Linked DNA regions of Homo sapiens: region 1 is linked to region 2. Evidence: promoter capture Hi-C in human tissues and cell types (Jung and others, 2019). All regions are on one chromosome and are shown on one strand. Each heading gives the region's core, a stretch centred on a gene start or on the middle of the fragment in contact. The rest is flanking DNA. Distances are from core to core; before and after follow the strand shown.

The links. The method cuts DNA at HindIII sites, captures the fragments that hold promoters and counts their contacts. A contact is called where the count stands out against the background at its distance.
Region 1: a contact is called between the fragment with the promoter of WDR47 here and a fragment that was not itself captured in region 2, in 1 of the 25 tissues and cell types used here (hippocampus).

The regions. Positions count from the first base shown.
Region 1 is chr1:109,040,326-109,044,581 of GRCh38, reverse strand. It overlaps WDR47 (WD repeat domain 47), which reads left to right and starts at 2,480. Exons shown (of 15, transcript NM_001142551.2): 1 at 2,480-2,720. RefSeq lists a silencer at 2,283-2,832. The HindIII fragment of the contact is 14,404 bases long and covers 1-4,256 here.
Region 2 is chr1:108,895,583-108,899,983 of GRCh38, reverse strand. GPSM2 (G protein signaling modulator 2) reads right to left here. Exons shown (of 15, transcript NM_013296.5): 3 at 2,899-3,120; 4 at 2,357-2,492; 5 at 1,883-2,025; 6 at 1,219-1,342; 7 at 990-1,105. Among named protein-coding and RNA genes, the nearest start is that of GPSM2, 21 kb to the right of the region's middle. The HindIII fragment of the contact is 6,291 bases long and covers 1-4,401 here.

The DNA.
Region 1 (4,256 bases), core at 1,231-3,730, 140 kb before region 2:
CACTTCAGCCTCTCAAGTAGCTAGGACTGCAGGTGTGTCTCACCGTGTCTAATTTTTTATTCTTGTTTTTGTAGAGAGGGAGTCTCACTATGTTGCCTAGGCTAGTCTCTAACTCATGGCCTCATGTGAGCCTCTGGCCTAAGCCTCCCAAAGTGCTGGGATTTCAGGCATGAGCCACTGTGCCCACCCATTTATTATTTCTTTTCTTTTTTTTTGAGACGCGGTCTCGCTCTGTCACCAGGCTGGAGTGCAGTGGCCCAATCTCGGCTCACTGCAACCTCCGCCTCCCGGGTTCAAGTGATTCTCCTGCCTCAGACTCCCGAGTAGCTGGGACTACAGGCGCACACCACCACACTCGGCTAATTTTTGTATTTTTAGTAGAGACAGGGTTTCACCATGTTGGCCAGGATGGTCTCGATCTCTTGACCTCTTGACCTCGTGATCTGCCCGCCTCGGCCTCCCAAAGTGCTGAGATTACAGGCATAAGCCACCACGCTTGGCCTGCCATTTACTATTTCTTTGTGTTGGGAACATTCTGAATCTTCTCTTCTAGCTGTTTGGAAATATAGAATAGATTATTGTTAACTATAGTCACCCAATTATGCTATTGAGCACTAGAATTTATTCCTGCTACATAACTGTATTTTTGTACCCATTAACCTCTTTATCCCCCCTTTGCCCTCCACTACACTTTCTAGCCTCTGGTAACCACCATTCTATTCACTACCTCCACGAGATCAATTCTTTTAGTTCCCACATATGTGTGAGAACGTGCAATATTTGTCTTTTTGTGCTTGTCTTGTTTCACTTAACATAATGTCCTCCCGTCCCATCCATGTTGCTGCAAATGACAGGATTTCATTCTTTCTTAATGGGTGAATAAGATTGTATTGTGTGGCCGGGCGCGGTGGCTCACGCCTGTAATCCCAGCACTTTGGGAGGCCGAGGCGGGTGGATCACGAGGTCAGGAGATCAAGACCATCCTGGCTAACACGGTGAAACCCCGTTTCTAATAAAAATACAAAAAAAAAAAAAAAAATTAGCCGGACCTGGTGGCGGGCGCCTGTAGTCCCAGCTACGCGGGAGGCTGAGGCAGGAGAATGGCGTGAACCCGGGAGGCGGAGTTTGCAGTGAGTCGAGATGGCGCCACTGCACTCCAGCCTGGGCGACAGAGCGAGACTCCGTCTCAAAAAAAAAAAAAAAAAAAAAAGATTGCATTGTGTATATGTACCACATTTTCTTTATCCATTTGTCTGTTGATTGACATAGGTTGATTCTATATTTTGGCTATTGTGAATAGTACTGCAATAAGCATGGGAGTGCCAGAAATATTTTTGATGTTTATTCTCTTTACCAGACTGTTACCCCATTTTCCCCTTTTGGGAGGTCCAGCTCACTCTGGACTTTCGCCTCTGTGAGGATGATGTTCTTTTTTCTGTGAGACGGAGTCTCTCGCTCTGTCACCCAGGCCGGAGTGCAGTGGCATGATCTCGGCTCACTGCAACCTCCGTCTCCCAGGTTGAAGCGATTCTCCTGCCTCAGCCTACCAAGTAGCTGTGATTACAGGAGGCTTGCCAGCACACCCGGCTAATTTTTGTATTTTTAGTAGAGACGGGGTTTCACCATGTTGGCCAGGCTGGTCTCAAACTCCTGACCTCAGGTGATCCGCCCGCCTCGGCCTCCTAAAGTGCTGGAATTGCAGGCGTGAGCCACCGCGCCTGGCCGAGAATGATGTTCTTACAGGTTTGTGTAATTGTATTCTTCCTTATGGTTATACTTCCTGGATGCTTAATTAAGCTCGGTTGAACATCACGTATATTTGTGGAATAAGGGGCTTACAACCAACAGGAGTAGACAAAACCTGAACATATTAAATGTTAAGTAACTGAAAAATGCTTTCAAGGCAGATCAGCTTTGCAAAATGAGAAACCAGGAAGGGGACAAACAAACTACTGGAGTTTTCTGGGACGAAGTGGGACCTAGGAAAGCAGCGAAAGAAGGGTAGAAGGCAACATTAATTTCATTAACCTTTATTAATTATCGGGGAGGAGTATGAAGAGTCAATCCTAATGCGCAGTCTTCTCCATTTGCAGGCGACAATCCTGTTCGTGCTATTTTGGGACATGGGGTCACCGGCCAGCTAAGGGTCTACGTCCCTGCCACCAGTCTCACGCTATTGCCGCACCCGTTCTGCTACTCCCCCGGGCCCCTAGCCGGTCCCTCCAAGCCCGACCCCCGCCCGCCCCGCCCAGGCTTTGGTCCGCCCCGCCCAGGCTTTGGTCCGCCCCGCCCCTCCCCGCCCCAGCTTTGGGCCCGCCCCTCCACGCCCCTCCCCGCCCCGCCCCGCCCCGCCGACTCGCCCTTCGGCTCAGGCACCTGCCTGGCCGCCCCGCGCGGCGGGGTCCTGAGGCGCCTCGGGGAAGCGCGGCGATTGGCTGCCGCTCGCGGGTAGAGCTCGGCTCCCCGGCACTTGACAACCGCAGTCTGCAAGAGGCTGAGCTGAGGAGTCGCTGGGCCGGGAGGGGCGGACGTGAGAAGGACGGATTGACGAACTGATGGATTGACGCGCGGGCGGTAGGAGGGAGGACCGACGCCAAACCCAGACCGCCGCCGTCGTGCTCCTGCCGCAGCCCGGAGCCGGCCGCTTCGGGGCCCTGGCCGCCGGCCTCCCAGCCGCGTTCTCCTCCGCCGCTCCTCCGGGCTTGCCCTGGAGCCCTCAGGTGGGTGACTCCGGGAGTCGGAGGCTGGGTCGGTCCGCTGCACACCTCGGGTTGCCATGGTCACCCGTCGCCTCCTGTCACCACCTGACACGGCTCCGACCGGGCGGCCCCGAGGACTGTGTTTGCGGCCCCGGAGAGGGGTCTTTAGTGGGCTTGGGTGCCGACTGGGAGGGGGCTGGGGTCGTGGGTGAGGCCCCAGCATCGCGGGGTGAGGATCTGCGAACTGCTGGGCCCCGGTTCGAGGTCACCGGTCCTGGACCACACCTTTCCCACATTACCAGTTGGATTCTGGGGGCAGAGCGACGCCCCTCGCCCTGGCACTGAGCAGCAAGTGAGCGCGAGGTTCGTGCCCATCTCGCCGCTGCGCCGATTCTTCCTTCCTCGCCCCTTGGTCGAGCCCGTGCGAGAACTGAGGGGCGCGCTCGCGTCCCTTTCTGGGCACGCCTTGGCCCGGAGGAAGAGAGGGAGCGGCGGGGCTGGGAGCCCCGCTGGGGCCGGTTTTGGCCTTTCTCACATCAATGGTCGGGATGGGAGCAGGCCTTTGGGGATCTGGGTGTGGTCGCGGAAAGGGGCAGCGACTCGATTTAGAACTGGGATTGCGCTGGAGGGGCGCCTGCGTAGAAGAACGCAAGGTTGTGGAACTCAAAGGGTTAAACCGCTTCCCTTTATTGGGGAGAAAAATATTGGAACTCTAGCTCTGGGGCGAGGCCATGGGCAAAGGGGGCGGGGGCGGGGGGCGAGGGTAGGCCGGGGCGGCATTTGGGCTTTTGACCAGATGATTTTTCCTTCTCTGTACCCAGACGTGCAGTTAGTAACCGTGCATGGTATCTGAGGGGACCGTTTTTTTTTTTTGGCAACTTGGTTTTCTCTGCATAATGAAAGGAGAAGTCTTTGTTCCACCCAGATTCGTAGGTTGTGATCCTAATACTTATTTCTCTCTTTGTTGGAGACTCTGTAGAATGCCTCAAAAAGTTAATGGCACAGAAATGAACATGTAGGTTTAAAAAATGCTATAAATCTTTTTTTCACAGTAAATTCAAGTAGAATTTTTTTGTCTCCAGTGTTGGCATATGTTGCATTGGCATTTTACTAAGAAGGAGAAACGCCTAAGAGCCCATTTTCCTTTATATGGCATATTGTCGAGGTCTCATTTAGGAAGAAGATGAAATGAATAATTCTACTTTAGGTTTGGGAGATTAGGAGAGATTGCTTCCAATAGGAAAGAAACATTATTACACGGTAATGGAAAAGTCAAGTCACAACAGTATATTGTTAGGTAAAAAAGCCAAAACCCAAACACTTGAATTTGGATGCCATTATGAAGATGTAAATTTTTTTTTTTTTTTGGACGGGATTTTAACCTGTGTTTATCTCCCACTGGTCCACTTCCTGGTTCTTTTCTCCCTCGCCTTAAAAACCAGTACTGTTAAGAATGTGTCATAAGAGAACAGGGGTACTATCCTATGTTACTACTTACATAATGGTGTTCAACCTCTTTTCCTGTTTGTGAAATAGAATATATTAGTTATTTAATGG
Region 2 (4,401 bases), core at 648-3,147:
AAAATATATACTCCTTCACATAGTACACAGTGATATATTTTATTTGGGAGGCTATTTCATATCTAACTAACCTAACCAACAAATATTAACCATTAGTTGATGTTTAAAGCAAAGTGGAATGCTATTTAATTTTTTTAGATAGGCCTAAAACAATTTTACCTTTTTTATGAAGATGACAAATTATCCAGAACTGTCTCATATTGGCTTCTTTAACAAAATACAAATCAATCACTGTGTCTTCGGTTTAGTCAAACTGCCTTCTACCCAAAATCTGTAAGAGGCTTCAATCCCCACTAACTAGGGAAAACTCAATCTAGAAAGCACAGATCAGGCAACTTGAAGCTGTCTAAACTTTCTATCATCTATGTCTCAAATCTACTGATAAGAGAGATCCTGCCACAGAAGAAGCTGGGATTGTAAATGCTTCAGGTAAGTGAATGGGGGACTCAGCTTACAGTGACAGTCAAATATAGGCAGAAAGAGGGTAAAGGGAGAACTGCTCAATAAGAGGGTGGGAAGGTAGAGAAAAAAATTCAGTGATCACTGGTATAGACTATAAATATTTTTGTTACAAGGCTTTCTTTTGGCCTCTCTTCTAACCCATAACTGAGTGAAATAAAGCATATACACAATATACACCACATATGCTAAACAGGTTTAAAAGATATTAAAGGTTGAAAACTTCATTTAAAAACAATTACTTTTAAAGATAAAAACCAATATTATAAAGGGGTCATACTGCTGCTATTAAATCTTATGTACAATAATATTTATTGAGCACTGTGTACCAGATACTGTGTTTAGTATATTATTTCATTCAATCCTCACAGCATTCCCCAAAATGAAGTATTGATATATTCTGTTACAGATAAGGAAATTGAGGCTTAGATGCCAAAAGTTCTGCTACAATCAGATTTTAAACCTAAAGCCTATGAATTAATGGGACTGAGTATTCATTTTACATTTATCTACAGAAATATTAGACTAACTTGTAGTATTCCGAGGCAGTTTCAAATTCACCAAGAAATATATATGCATTTCCAAGGTTGCTATATGCTCTTCTTTCAGCTGCTTTATCTCCAAATTCTTTTGCAATAAGGAGACGCTGAAACAAACAATTTTAATTAGATGTAGATAAAATAAAACTGAAGAATGATCTAATCACTGTTCAGAACTTTGATGGAGGAAATGATCTGGCTCCAAGGCTTTCCACTGTACCTGCTCATGAGCTATAACTGCATCCCTGAAGTTGCCAAGGAGGTAATGTGTGTTTCCAAGATTTCCAAAGGCACGTCCTTGTGCCGCTCGGTCACCCAAAGCAGTCACTAATGATAGGTTTTCCCTAAGGGATCGCAAAAAGTGATGAAAAAATAAGTTTGCAGAACAATTTTATGTATGTGATTTACATATCTAATTCTTTTTATCAGAAAAAAATGTAGGGAAGCTTACAGCCATAATGTGCAACATTTTAAGGATGACATCTATGATGAAGAGCAATTATAGGAAATAGCTGGGAACACTTTATTAAACTATTCAGATAGGTTTCTGCCCAGGGTCAAGCACAGAGTTAATCTTGGAACCCCTATAGTTAAGTAGTTCTATGAAATTCTATTGGTAAAAGACTAAATTACTCTAAATAACAGACCAACCATTGACATTTCTTGCTTTTGCCACTAAGTGGCACTGGTCTGCAACTTAAATGAAAGCTGCAGATTACTACTAATATAACACTGTAACATTTAAGCAACTGAATTGATGATTTTGCTAGTTCATAACTTTAAAATCTTTGCCAAACTTAAAAACTTACTACTGAATAAAGAACGTACAGCAGATCCACGGCTTAGATGGGCCTACATGACTGCCCATATCAGCCCCTACTCACTCATAAAAATCCACGGCTGCCTGCAGAGCATCTCTCACTTCTTCTGGAAATTCTCCTACATCCTGGGGACCAGGGCAACCAAAACTTTTCCCTTTGGCATGATACACATTCCCAAGATTGTAAAGTGCTCTTGCTTCTCCCACCTAAATGAAGACATCAGCAAAGTTTACATTTTGAAAACAGAGGTCAGGTTTATCATATATATTTGTAATATCCTTAGTATTACGGACAAGGGAAAAAAATTTTTATATTGGCTCTCCATACAGAACCAATCAAATAATTACTTATGAAAGACCTCTTACTATTTCCTTCTTTTTCTCCATTAAATTTTTTTTCTTTTACTTCTATTAGTCTATAAATGTTTTCTTTTTTGGTATTAATTTTAAAATAAACTATAGAATAATTAAATAGTATTAAAATGCAAAGCCCTTTGAATGAAAATATTAGGCCTACCATCTAATGCTGCGGTATTACCTTGTCATTAAGCTCTCTGGAAATATCTAGGTGTCGCTGACAACAAACTATGGCTTCGTCAAAATTCCCAAGAACTTTTAAGGTGTTTCCCAGATTACCACTAGCTTTCGCTTCCCCCAGCTGGTCTCCAATAGTCCTGAAAAAAACAAAAAACAAAAAACAAAAAACCAAATGGTATTAAAATACAAATGGTGTTAAAATATAAAGTAGCCAGAGTACAGTTTTCCAAGAGGACAAACTGACATGCTTAAGGTAAGAAAAACCCATTGGCTTTGAAACCTACTTTAAATAAATATTTAAAACTTACATTTCTGGATTTGAATGTAATTAGTTTTCATCCATTTAATTAAACTCTAGGGTCAATTCACTACTATTCATTCAATTAAACTGTGTTCAGCCTAAAGGTTAGTTTTGAAAAGCGATGTTACTGAAGTAGAACTCATTAAATGTATTAAGTTAGTTTTTGTTAATTGAATAGAAATATTTTTTAAAGTAATAGCTAATTTCAGAAGGAAGAATATTTAAAAGCTTAAATTAATTACCTTGCAAGGGTTAAATCATGATGGTGATATTCTAATGCTTTGGCATAATCATGCAAATAGAAATAAGCATTGCCCAACTGGCTGTAAATAGCGCTAAGTGTTTTTAGGTCTTCAGTTCCAACTTGAACTGCAGCTTCAAAGAATGACACGCCAGCGCGGCAGTCTCCTGATTTACATAGACGTTCCCCTTCCAAGGCCAGCTCTAGGCAAGAAGCTTCCATTCTACAAAATTATACAGGACAGACATTTAAACATAACATTACAGCTGCATCACAGTATTTTTAACTTCCCGTAATATAATTTAAGCGGCTACTCTTGTTCAGGGCAGCTGCCTCTATAACTGAAGTTTATATACATTCCTGATAAAACAGTAAGCAGTTATTTGTAGCAAGAGGTAATTTGCCTATTCGAATTTCTCTGAGCCTGCTCAGAGAGGTCAGGATAGCTAAATATCTTTATGTGGAGCTCATTTTAATTGGCCCAGAGCAATCCACGTTACTAGTGAAAGAGCCTAAAGCAGTATTTCCCAAACAATTCTGAGTTGTAACAGACCTCTGGACTTCCTTAGAGTCTGAGAAGATGAGTATGTAGGAAAGTGAGGCCCTACAATTATTAATATTGTTCTCTACCCAGGTATCCAAGTAATCTAGTCACCTGTTCATCAGCCCCTCTGACCATCCAGCCATCCATCCCTCGCTCTCTCTCTCATACACACACAACACACACTCACTCTCCTTCCTCTTCTTACCACCACATGTCCACTTATACCCTAGAAAAATAGAGGAACAAAATATTCTTGATCTGTAAGACACATTTTCACAAGAGAACTAGGTGTCAAGAAACTAAGTTAGAAAACAATGATTCAAAAATTTGCAGAAATACTAATTTTGAAAGTCTGTCCCTGAATTGAAAAAGAAGGATTAAGTCACTGTAAACATATCTGGGAGAAAAAAACACTGATACTTTGGATTCAAATCCTAAATTTTAGAGGGTGCCCTTCACCAAAGTTGCCATTGTGTTTCTTCAGCATCTTCATGATTTCTGCCATATGTAGGAACTACCTATTCGTTTAATTATTTCTGTAATTTGGCAAATTTCCTTTAAATTGGCACACTATCTTTAACTTATCATTTTAAAAAAATGGAGCTTCATCCAAAGCAGTACTCATGAAACTGTGAATTTGATACGATACTTATATGTATATTCTAATACAACGGTCTCCAATCTTTTTGGCACCAGGGGCCGGTTTTGTGGAAGACAATTTTTCCATGGACGGGTGGCAGGGGATTGTTTTGGGATGATTCAAGTGCATTACATTTATTGTGTACTTTATTCCTCTTGTTACTATACATTCACCATAATGTACAATCAGTGGGAGCCCTGAGCTTGTTTTCCTGCAACTAGATGGTCTCCTCTGGGTGTGACTGGAGACAGTGACAGATCATCAGGCATTAAACTCTCATAAGGAATGTGCAATCTGGATCCCTCGAATGTGCAGTTCAC